Linked DNA regions of Homo sapiens: region 2 is linked to region 1. Evidence: promoter capture Hi-C in 16 types of primary human blood cells and fetal thymus (Javierre and others, 2016). All regions are on one chromosome and are shown on one strand. The core of a region is centred on a gene start or on the middle of the fragment in contact, and the rest is flanking DNA. Distances in the headings are between cores, read along the strand shown. Region 1 holds the start of TSHZ1 (teashirt zinc finger homeobox 1). Region 2 overlaps ZNF407 (zinc finger protein 407).

Region 1 (5,655 bases), core at 2,389-4,888:
AACAAATAATATTTGCTACCAATGCATTGTGGCTACTTTAAGAGGGAATCTGACTGGCTTCTGCAGAGATTATAAACATCGACGGCTCCTTATTAAACGCTTAAGATGAAGGAAATCAGGATTTTCTCACCTAGCCCATTACAAATATAGGAAGGACTTATGCCAATGTAAATATTAGTGAAAATAAGCAAGTGTGAACCAACGTGTGTTAATGGAAGTAATTCCAGATGAAAGCAAACAGCCTTATTTTGCTAGGAATCCACGTTAATGCTTTTTATGAGTGAGGGGGGAAGAGCTAAACAATGGCTCATCTAATGAACACAAGAATCCCACAGGTTTGGAATCAAAGTAGAGATAATAAACCCTGTAATTAAACTTACACAGAACCTTCTAGTATGGAATCTATTTTTGAAATCTCACTTCAAAACACAGGACACTTGGAACATGTGCTGTCTCAATTTCCTCTCAACTAAAATATATTTTGGCTCCATTTTTTAGGGTTTTTTCCCTCTCAAGTTCCTGTACAGCAGATGACTCAGTCATCAACTCTTCATAGCCATCACTTTGCAGCATTTTGATTAAGTATGCCAAATGTCGTGTAGAGGAAAGAATGGAAACACTAAGCCTGCCAACTTTTGATTGACCATTAAAGCCAATGATATATGTGCCTGTCAAAAGACAGACAATTAAATCAATATTGGAAAAAAGTCGCCTTGACGGCTTGTTTTTATGTAAGAGCTGCCAGGATGGATTACCATGCACCATCATGCCCTTGTCAACTTTCAAACCTTTTATTTAAAAAAAAAAAAAATGTGGTATTTAAAGTTGCAGTACCTCATTCCCTCAGCATTTTGTTTGTCCTTGGAAATATTCACCGCAATTTTAACTGCAAAAGTTCTTAAGAGTACAGGAGTAGTTTTCTGAACACAACTTTTTATTGTACATTCTGTCATTTAAAAAAAAATCCCTCTAACTGTGAAAATGTAAAGACCTCTTGTTTCTAGCATGAGCAAGTGGCGAATATCTTGAGACACTGAGCTATATTATTTGGGGGCTACCAGTGGCATAGATACTCTCTTTGAAAGGTTTCTTCCTCCATTACTCAAAGTTATTCCAAAATAAATATTCTCCATTCTGTTCCTTTTATGTTGTGAATACTCAGCATAAGGTAATCTCCTTCAACTCTTTGAGAGCATCTCTATCAGTGATCTAATGGAAATGATGAGGTTATTTTACTGAACCATTCATAAACGTAGATACTATTCCCAAATTTTTTTAGTAGCAGTAATCTCTGCTTTAAGTGCTTCCCCAGAAAAAGCACGTATAAAGACTTGAACACGTGCACATTACTGAATGTGATACTCAAACTTATTCAGATTCTATTCTGTACTGCAACAGCTAAAGAGTCGCTCATGTTTAAACATAAAACACTCCTTCTAATATTTTTACCCTAAGAGCTTGGAGAGAGTTGATTTACTCTATTATTTAGCGATAACTCACTGGCATATGGGTTGCATTCTCAGCCCCACAAACGCAATGTCCAAAACTGAGACAAGACTTGAGCAGGCAGCAGAATCACTGGGCTATTTTCAAACCTGTGCTCAAAAACGCACGGCAGCTGACCCACCCCAGGTTTAGCAATGGATTAGTAGGTGAGCTGAGTTAAGGGATGCTGCAGCTGTAAAACTTCTGAGACAAAATTAAAATGGAGCAGCAAAAGGGGGAGCGAGAGAGAAAAGTTGCCCTGATAGTGGCGGAGCTGTCAGGAGCATGTGTGTTTCCATGGTGAGTGATTTATTGATGTTTATCAGGAATGAATAGATCAAAGGCTGCCAGATGACAGGCGATCAATCACACATCAAATCAAGGATGGCAATCCTCTAATAAAACAGAAAACAAGGAAAACCAGCTCCTGCCAGTTCCTCCTCCAGAGAAAAATAACTTTTCTGTTCAATCAGAGTCTGCACTATCACTGCCTTGTGCTGGCCTGATCAAAAGACATCTTTAGAGGTAATAAAAAAAAAGTGGGGGCGGGGGGCCTCTTGCACAGGACATTAAAGGCTGCTGTTTTCCAGAGAAATCTTCTGAACACATTCTTTGCGTCCCAGCCTGGTGACCTTGTTTTCAAGTGTCAGGTTCAGCCTCCCCGCCTTTGGAGGACTTTTCCAGTGCGCTCCGGCAGCCAAGGAGCAACTACTTCCCCTCAGCGCACGCCCCCTCCTGAGGTAGCCAGAAGCACCCGCCGTCCCGCGGCCCCCGGCCTCCCCCGGCCATCCGGGCTTCCCGCAGCGCAGAGAAGCACCGCGAACTTTCTCTGCTCCACGCGCCGGCCCAGGTTGGGGGTGTGGGGGAGGACGGCGACCGCAGCCTCCAGACGACTGTGGCCAGCGCAGGCTGGGCCTCCCCTCCCCAGCTTGGGGCGGCCCGCGGCCCACGTCCCGCACCTCGGCCCGCGAAGCCCCCTCCTCCTGCTCCTCCCGGCGCCCACTCCCCGCGGCGCGGGCCGCGCGCCCGTTACCTGCCGAGCGCCGGGGGGCCTGCTGCTTCCTCCTCGGCATGCTGCTCGGCCGCCGCAGCCGTCGCCTCAGCCGCCGCCGGAGTTCGCGGGGCGCGGGGACGCGGGGCCCCGGGCGCGGGCGCAACTCCGCGGCGCGCCCAACTTTGGCCTCGTCCCCGCGGGCTCCGGGCTCCGGGCGCGCCGCGGACCGCGGGGAGCCGCTCGCATGGACCGCCGCGCCCGGGGCCGCTCAGGAGGCGGCGGCGGCGGCCGCGCGGCCCGCTTCCCGGCGCCGGGCTGCGGGCGGAGCGCGCGGGGCCTGGGCGCCGAGCCCGGAGTCATCCCCGGCGCGGGCCGCGGGCGCAGCAGCGGGCGCTCGGCGGGCCGGCCCGCGGCCCGCGCTCCATGCTGCCGCCTCCCCGCCGCCGCGCTGCTGCTGGGCGGGCGCTCCTCCCGGCGCGCCGCTCCGGGCGCTCCCCTGCGCCTTCTTCCGCGAGCCGAGAGTCGCCGAGCGCAACTTTCTCTCCCCCTCTCTCCTCGCTGTTTGGGGGTCGCGGCGAGTGTTTTTAGTGCGCGGGTCGCAGCTTTCTCATTGTGCGCCAGCGAGGCCGATGCAGGCTGTCCTTTTCCTCCCCGCACTTAGTCTAAGAGGAAGAAAGCAAACAAGACAGAGGAGTGAAGCCCCCGTACATACATGCGCCGGGGGGAGATGTCAGGCGCTGCTCCACCTTCCAAACAGTCACAGATCAAACAGTGTCACCCCGCCGGAGCGCCACTTGGTGCCCCGCGCTTCCACCCGGGGGGCTTGGCCGCCAGGATCGCCGCTTCTTCCAATGCGAAATCTAATGCAAACACATTTTGATCATGGATTTTTGGCCGGTCTTGATCTTCCAACAGAAAAAAATTTGAAAAATACACAAAAAGCACCCCCCCCTCCAAGAAAAAAAAAAGGCAACAACAACCCGGAGAGTGTGTGCAAAGGGGGTGAAGAGCAGACATTCACTGGGTGGGCGAGATGAGCGTGGACTGTCCCCCCCCCCCTCAAACTCCTGGGAGAGAGGGAGATGCACTCTCGCTCTCTCCTCTTTTCAGTGAAATATAACACACATTCGGATCGCAGAGCTTTCAGACAGTCTCAACTGATAGACAGACACATCGAGCTGCTTTTCCTGCTTCAGTTTTTACTCCTCCTCCTCTCGCCAACGTCACCCTGACAATTACAAATAGGTCTCTCACAAACCATACCTGTCAATCTTTTTAATTGCTTTGTTTTCTTTTTTTCGGAGCTAAACAATATGACAAAAAAAAGAAATCTTAATACAGCATAACATAAAAGATTGTACATTGGAGGAATTCATTCAGTGTTGTTATTGTAACCCACTGGCTGATACCGGGTAAAACCCATATGCTCTAAGTTAAGTAGACATTAGTTCCTGCAGATTTTTAAACCTGTTAGTTCCCCCCCAACACACACACATACACATACACACACTTGCACATTCATACACACGCAACCACGTGCATCCAAACTACCCTTGGGTGAAGCATGTCCTACATTTGGGGGGAAAAATATCTGTGTCGCTTTTGCAATCTCAGGTTGGGGGGTTAGATTTGGCTGGGGAGGAGCCCAGAGTAGCTTTTATATTTTGGTAATTCGTGGGTAACTGAAAAGCAAGATATTTTTAAAATTAAATTTTACAATTTAAATAAAAATGTAAAGATGGACTTAGTTCATCACAGAAAAGTGTGGAAATATTTAATTTGGCCCCTCTATAAAAAGTGAATTGACATTTGGTCCATGCACGCCAGTAGGGAGAAAACGGACACGATGGAACGACAGATCTTTCTAGCTGGGTTCGAAAATGAGGTCCTCACACAGCAGTGCAACGTCTCCAATTCAGTTAAGTCCCTCGGCATCCCCACGTAGAACTTTAAAATGTGTCTGTGCTCTGGGAATTTGGCCTTCTGGTTTTCTATATGTGTGTTCTCTCCCAATGGGAAACCTGTAACAGTCTTGTAGATCTACTTAAAACATTCATGGAAAAACATGAAATCTAGGCCAAAATAAATAAAATGGCTTAGTTCCTGCAACTTGCATGGGACAGACCGTGGACAGAAAGCACGCGCAAGGGGTTCCGGGGACAGGAAGCCACCAGCCTGGGGAGCGGGAGGCACTGGACATTTCCCCGCCCCGCGGTCGGTACGGGTGCGCGTGCGGCAGCGGCGGCAGGGGCTCCCCGCCCTGCCCGGGGTCCCCGGTCGTGCCCCGCCGCCCGGGCCGCGCTCGGGGTTGATTCGTACCACCTTGCAAGGAAGTGAACGCTTCGCACGGGAAGGGGAGGCGCCTGCGCCGGCCGCCGCGCAGCTCCGGGGACGCCCGGGGCTGCCGCCGGCTCGGGGCCGCAGACGACCGCGGGACGCGCGAGTCCCCCGTCCCCCCTTGCCCGCCGTCCCCCCCGCCACCCTTGCCCGAGAGGAGTCAAATCCGGCTTTTAGAGCTCGGGGAGGGTGGGGATATCCGGTGCCTCTCCCGCGCCAGGAGGAAGGGGGAGGGCGGAGAGGATCCTTGGCCAGTCTGCGCCGAGCAGATTCAAACCAAAACAAAAAGATTAAAGGAGCAGCGGCCGGGGCGGCAGCGGTCCCCAGGCCGGGACACCCGGGGTGGTGCGCCCGGGTTCGCGGGGGCTGCGCCGGCGCCGGGGAGGCGGGGGGAGCGGGAGCGGGCGACGCGGGGAAGGGGGGAGCCAGGGGGAGGGCGCCGGCCGGAGGAGGGGCGGACCCGCCCGCCCTAGCCGAGCAGAGCACAGCCGAGCCGAGCGGCCCGGGCGGGGGCCGACCCCGGCCAGCGTCGGCGCAGAGAGCGGGCGGAGGCGCAGGCCATGCTGCGGCTGGTGCCCACCGGGGCCCGGGCCATCGTGGACATGTCGTACGCCCGCCACTTCCTGGACTTCCAGGGCTCCGCCATTCCCCAAGCCATGCAGAAGCTGGTGGTGACCCGGCTGAGCCCCAACTTCCGCGAGGCCGTCACCCTGAGCCGGGACTGCCCGGTGCCGCTCCCCGGGGACGGAGACCTCCTCGTCCGGAACCGGTGAGCCCGGCGCCCCCCAACCCCACGCCCCCGTTCTCGCCCCGGGCTCGCGCCGCGCCGCGCCGCTCCC
Region 2 (5,156 bases), core at 2,217-4,716, 560 kb after region 1:
TGAGCACTCATTAAAATTATATCGATGGACATAAATTTCACTCAAAAAAAGGAGTCCAATGAATAATATATTAGCATGTTCATGATAACACATAAGCCAACAATGTCAATTCATTTTTTTCTAAAAAATAGCTAAAATCATCATTTTATTTCAAATAGCATACATCATTTCAATAAGTTATCATAAGGAAACACTAAGTGTGCATAATTACGTTAGTTTTTGATAATCTACTGATGCTTTAAATAATGTATAAGCATGAGCTTTTTTCCAACATGTTAGTTTGTAGTATCGCTATTTTGTAAAAGACATTACTGAAATTGAAACTAATCACTATGAATCAATATATGAAGATTCAATAAATATAAGCATATCGATACATGTTAAATATATTTAGCATTTAATTGCTAAAAACCCATTGTCCCTATACTAAAGATCTGAGTCAAAAATAGATTCAACTTTTATGGTTAGTAATATTTCACAATAGTTCTGCAAATATATATTAATAATATACTGAGATTACAAAATTATAATTTTATAAACCATAGACATAAAAAGGCCCATCATTTTCTAGGTGTTTAAACCTAAGTTACTATTACTAACTTCAGTTGGCAAATGGCAGGTTTAATGGACACAATATTCTTTTGTTACTCAAAATATAGACAACTGAGAATATGACGCTTAAATAAACTTTTAAAGAGATTCAACTTGAAATCCCTGCAACTAAAACAGCATAATCTACAATAGCCAAACAGAAAACTTCATAGCAACTAGATATTTTGATTGGAAAACCATATATCCAAGAGAACTGCAATGACATCAATTTCCTTACCACAGACATCTATGGCTATCTTGATAGGCTTAATTTGGTTCAACAAAATGTCACATCACACAAACCATGTTCAGTGAATTCTACAAAATCTAAATACAGAACATAGGGTGTGGAGTCAAATATAAATTGTTTAATAAATTTCAAATCTCTAGAATTTTCCGTTTTTCAACCAATCCACATCTAGCAAGCTTTGCTAATAACCTCCCTTGTTTTTATGGAACATGTCCAGTCATAGCTTATATGACTGATTTGAAATGCAAGCTTAAATTTATTCCAAACTCACTAATGATCAGCTATAAACACCTAACATACCCTATATGTGAGAGGTGACTGAAACTGAGAAAATGTAATTTACCGAAGGAGAAACTAAACTGTGTTATGTGCATTGGTTCTGACTTAGGAAAGTTTTGCCAATAGTTCTTTGTTTTGATTTTTCAGACCAAGGGAGGAAGCACCTCGGGAAGTTGTAATATGAAACTAATGGAGAAAAATATAGCACCCACCCCTGAAAACCTTTTGTATTGTTTCAATCACAAAACTTACCCCAGTAGAAGTGTTAGAGTAACATAATATTGCCCTCTGCTGGTCCTTCATGATTTTTACATCTAACTGCCTTAGTTTAAGTTCTCAGCATGGGGGGAAAATATAAGCAATATTCATGTAATAAGCAAAAACAAATAATAAAGATTAAAATACCGTAAGTTCCACAGTAACGTTTCCATGATATATATTTTTATTTTATATTTAGTTTAAACAGGAAAAGGCTACGATGTATTTTGAAATTGCTCGATGAATAAAAACCCTAGCAAGTATTAAAACCCTTTATTTCTAGAAATATAATCATACTGCTGTCTTCCAACAATCAAATGTGTTTTAGATAATGATAGGAAACAGAAATATGCTGAATATTTTGGCAACGCTATAAAAAGGTACTTAACTTTGATCTTTAGATATTTTTCTGCTGTAATTTTAAGTGATTTCCTACATTATAGCTCTGAATAATATTTTCAAAAGCCTCTTTAAAAGGGTAGAAAAAAGGGGGACTATACTGTACTTGAATGGAAAAGCTGCTCTACTTGATGATATCAAATTCTTGAGCAAACTTTCCATGAAGTCATCTTTACCTACAGGAAGTCAATTAAAATCTGACAGGAGAGATTAAGGGCTCTGTGACAGATTTCACTGGTCTGTACTCAGTATAGACACAGCAATGCTATAACATTGAAGTTACAATGAATATTTAACAATCCAACGACTAACTACTCCAGCAGAGTTTTCAAAATAATGTGATGTCCCTATTTGTTAGAGCAAGTTCACTCTGGCATCAATTAAATCATGAACTGTCATCTTGATTGCTCTCTTTGTTGAGGGACAGCACATTTCCATCTAAGGATCACCTCGGCTTTATATCTCTGCAAGACAATTCATAATTCTGAGCAGCAGAATGAATGCACAAATTACATTCTTCAACCTTTTACTCCCACTAAATCTTTCCTTTTTTCCACTTTGCTGAGCCTGAATATTTTATTCCTCCATCAAATATGCATCCCATTAATTAAGTTAAATTACTTCTGACTGCCAAATATTCTCTGTCGATGACTGTCAACAGAAAATACATGGCTGTGAACTTCTAATGACACAGTCTCGCTTAAACATGAGTTACAACCTTCACGCAGGCATCTACAGGCAAATTATCGGCCTCTTCTTCAAAACCGGGCTGAAATTAAATGCTGGTTTCTTTTTCTTCAGCTTTTAACAAGTACACAATAGATGACACTCGTACTTGACAAAGCAAGTACTGCAATTTTAATTATATACCTTTTCCTCATCTTTTAATTGCTGTTGTTAATCAGTCATTAACTTCTTCCCAAAGTGCAAGATTCTTAAATCTCCTTCAAAACATTTCGGCTCAATAAATTCCATCGCTCTTCATAACTAACATATAATTTTGTCTATTTTTAAAACTGTCATTTTCCAAACAGGGTATTTTTAATGTGCTCTTTAAGGATGACAGTAACAGGGTTTTAATCATAACTTGCATAAAATTATCACTCTCTAACACATCAAGACTAAAACAACCCAGAAAGACTTAAATGGGTTGTTTAAGAATAATTTTGTAACATAAACACCAAAATTTCTATCTTTACCCTTGAGCTACAGTCCCACCAAGCTAAGGGGGGAAATATTATATTTATATATAGATAGATAGATAGATAGACACACACACACATATATAGCAATTTCTTGCCCCCTCCACTACAGAAATGGAAATGTAGTTCTCAATAATTTATTATGCTCTCTATCACAGTATAATCATTAGTGCAAAAATATTTAATTACAGTGAAACTGTTATGACATTACTATAAAGCCAGTAAATTTTTTTCTACACCTTAAGATAATGTGTTCTTTGGGGTAACAAACAATATTCCCGTGGCCCACCCCTTCCATGAATACTTCAAAAATGCCACCTAGGCCCTATGTAAGTGTTCTCTGTCTCTCTCACAAAGAGAACCTGCAAAGTCTGTGAGTTTGCCTGTTTCATACATGAGCCCACCCTAAAGTGTATGACCAAGTGCAGACCCCTGTCAACCAAACTACCTAGAAAGAGTGACTAACAGGATGTCTGCTGAACTACACCAACACAGCAGTCATCAACCTAACTTGTCTGTGGATGCAGAAAGGTGCTCCGTTTCTCTCAATGTTTACAAGTCTCTAAATCTCAATGGGGCTTCTTTTGAAGTACTGCAGCAATTCAAAACAAAGAAATTGTCAGTCTTTGCATCCCTTAAAGTGACTAGGCAGGAGTGCTACATGATGCAGACTAAGTAAGCACCAACAATTGTAAACGATACCATGCACAGAGACCATATAGTCCATCAGATACTAGCTGAAAAGGAACTTTTCAGCTAAGAACTAAGAGACAGCAGGGAGGGGTGGCAGGGGAAATAAAATTATTCTGCCAATGGGCACTAGTCAAACAGACTATGACAAAGACATTTTCGATTATTTGTTCCTAATACAAAATAAAGTGAAATGCTATTTTTGACAATCCAGCTGATTTTAGATATAATTCACATTGCCCATGTTCTATCATCTTAAGGAAAAGAGAAAACAGTTGCCTCACAATGAATACCCAAATTGCTTGTGTATCTTCATCACTTAATAGTTAATTCTATCCTTTGATAGAAGTGACCATCTAAACTCAAAAGGAATTATAATAGATTCACCACTGTTGGTTACTGAAACTAGAGTTCCCACGTTTGGCACTCAGAAAATGTTTGAAAATGAATGGACGAATGTTGATCAATTAATTAACTTTGCTGCTTAAACCTGTGTCCATTATTTCCCTTGTTAAAAAGAATGGTAGCTAAAAATAGTGAGACTGAAAAGTTTAAGAGCTACATTAAAGCTAATTAGAATGCCAGTGGGATAAAATAGAAACAGCCCTGACCCGAGAGTCACAAGTCCTGGGTTCTTGTCTCCATTTGTGAAAAGTCACTTAAGCTCTTGACCCAAATTTCTTTACCTGTCCACTAGATGGATTGGACCAGGCAACAGTGTAAGTTCTAAAACCCTATTTTTAAAATAAATTTTAGTGGTGAATACTAAAATGTCTTTAATATTTAAACACATTCCAATTTTTCAGACTAGCACAAATTTATGTTGTGAAGCATTTGACTATCAATGTCCCTAGCCACAATGTAAAAAATCATACTTATTTTCTAATATTATAATGATAATTACCAGATGTGTTGACATAAGACCACTTTCACCTATTTCACTTACAGCAGCACTTCTAAAATAGACTAGAGACCATCTTACATTTAGCCAGATTTTATAAGAATTTTCCAGTACCCCATTAACACATGTAATGGTGACAGCGTAATTATGATGCAAATTAACACTTTATTGGTCCTTCAAAAACAACCATCCCTTGAGCCCAGCTCAATATATTCTTATAGTACCTCAGCAGTAAATAGGACTTTTTAAAATTGAGTGGAAATAGCAAACCAAAAATAACTTTCTAAAAATTTGTATATCTAGATAGTAGCATATTCTACAGTGCTTGAAACTGCTATTTCTCAGTACTTTGCTACTTAGACAACAGACTTTGGTATACTAATGCTAAGGCAGGGGAAAGAGGAGACAGGGTCTCAGAAGAAAAGTGACAGGGGATCAAGGGTGCGGAGGGAGAACACTCCAGAAACACAGACCACGGAAGCGATTAGAAACAAGACAAGTACCCCAGGACTAAGATGTAGGAAAGTAAGTAGATTACTACACAGTACATACTTTTTAAAAATTAATGGTTTCCTGTCCCAACTGA

What was found. The method cuts DNA at HindIII sites, captures the fragments that hold promoters and counts their contacts. A CHiCAGO score of 5 or more calls a contact.
Region 2: a fragment that was not itself captured here is called in contact with the fragment with the promoter of TSHZ1 in region 1 in 8 of 17 cell types (M2 macrophages, M0 macrophages, M1 macrophages and 5 more); the score reaches 14.5 in M2 macrophages.

Annotation. Positions count from the first base shown.
Region 1 is chr18:75,208,780-75,214,434 of GRCh38, reverse strand. It overlaps TSHZ1 (teashirt zinc finger homeobox 1), which reads right to left and starts at 3,638. Exons shown (of 2, transcript NM_001308210.2): 1 at 2,519-3,638. The coding sequence starts at 2,558. PTGR3 (prostaglandin reductase 3) reads left to right here and starts at 5,296. Exons shown (of 2, transcript NM_175907.6): 1 at 5,296-5,585. The coding sequence starts at 5,377. RefSeq lists silencers at 2,325-2,644, 4,582-5,621, 5,647-5,655 and enhancers at 3,527-3,821, 4,861-5,655. The HindIII fragment of the contact is 17,256 bases long and covers 1-5,655 here.
Region 2 is chr18:74,648,827-74,653,982 of GRCh38, reverse strand. The region is part of intron 3 of ZNF407 (zinc finger protein 407); the gene reads right to left. Among named protein-coding and RNA genes, the nearest start is that of ZNF407, 54 kb to the right of the region's middle. The HindIII fragment of the contact is 4,748 bases long and covers 1,093-5,156 here.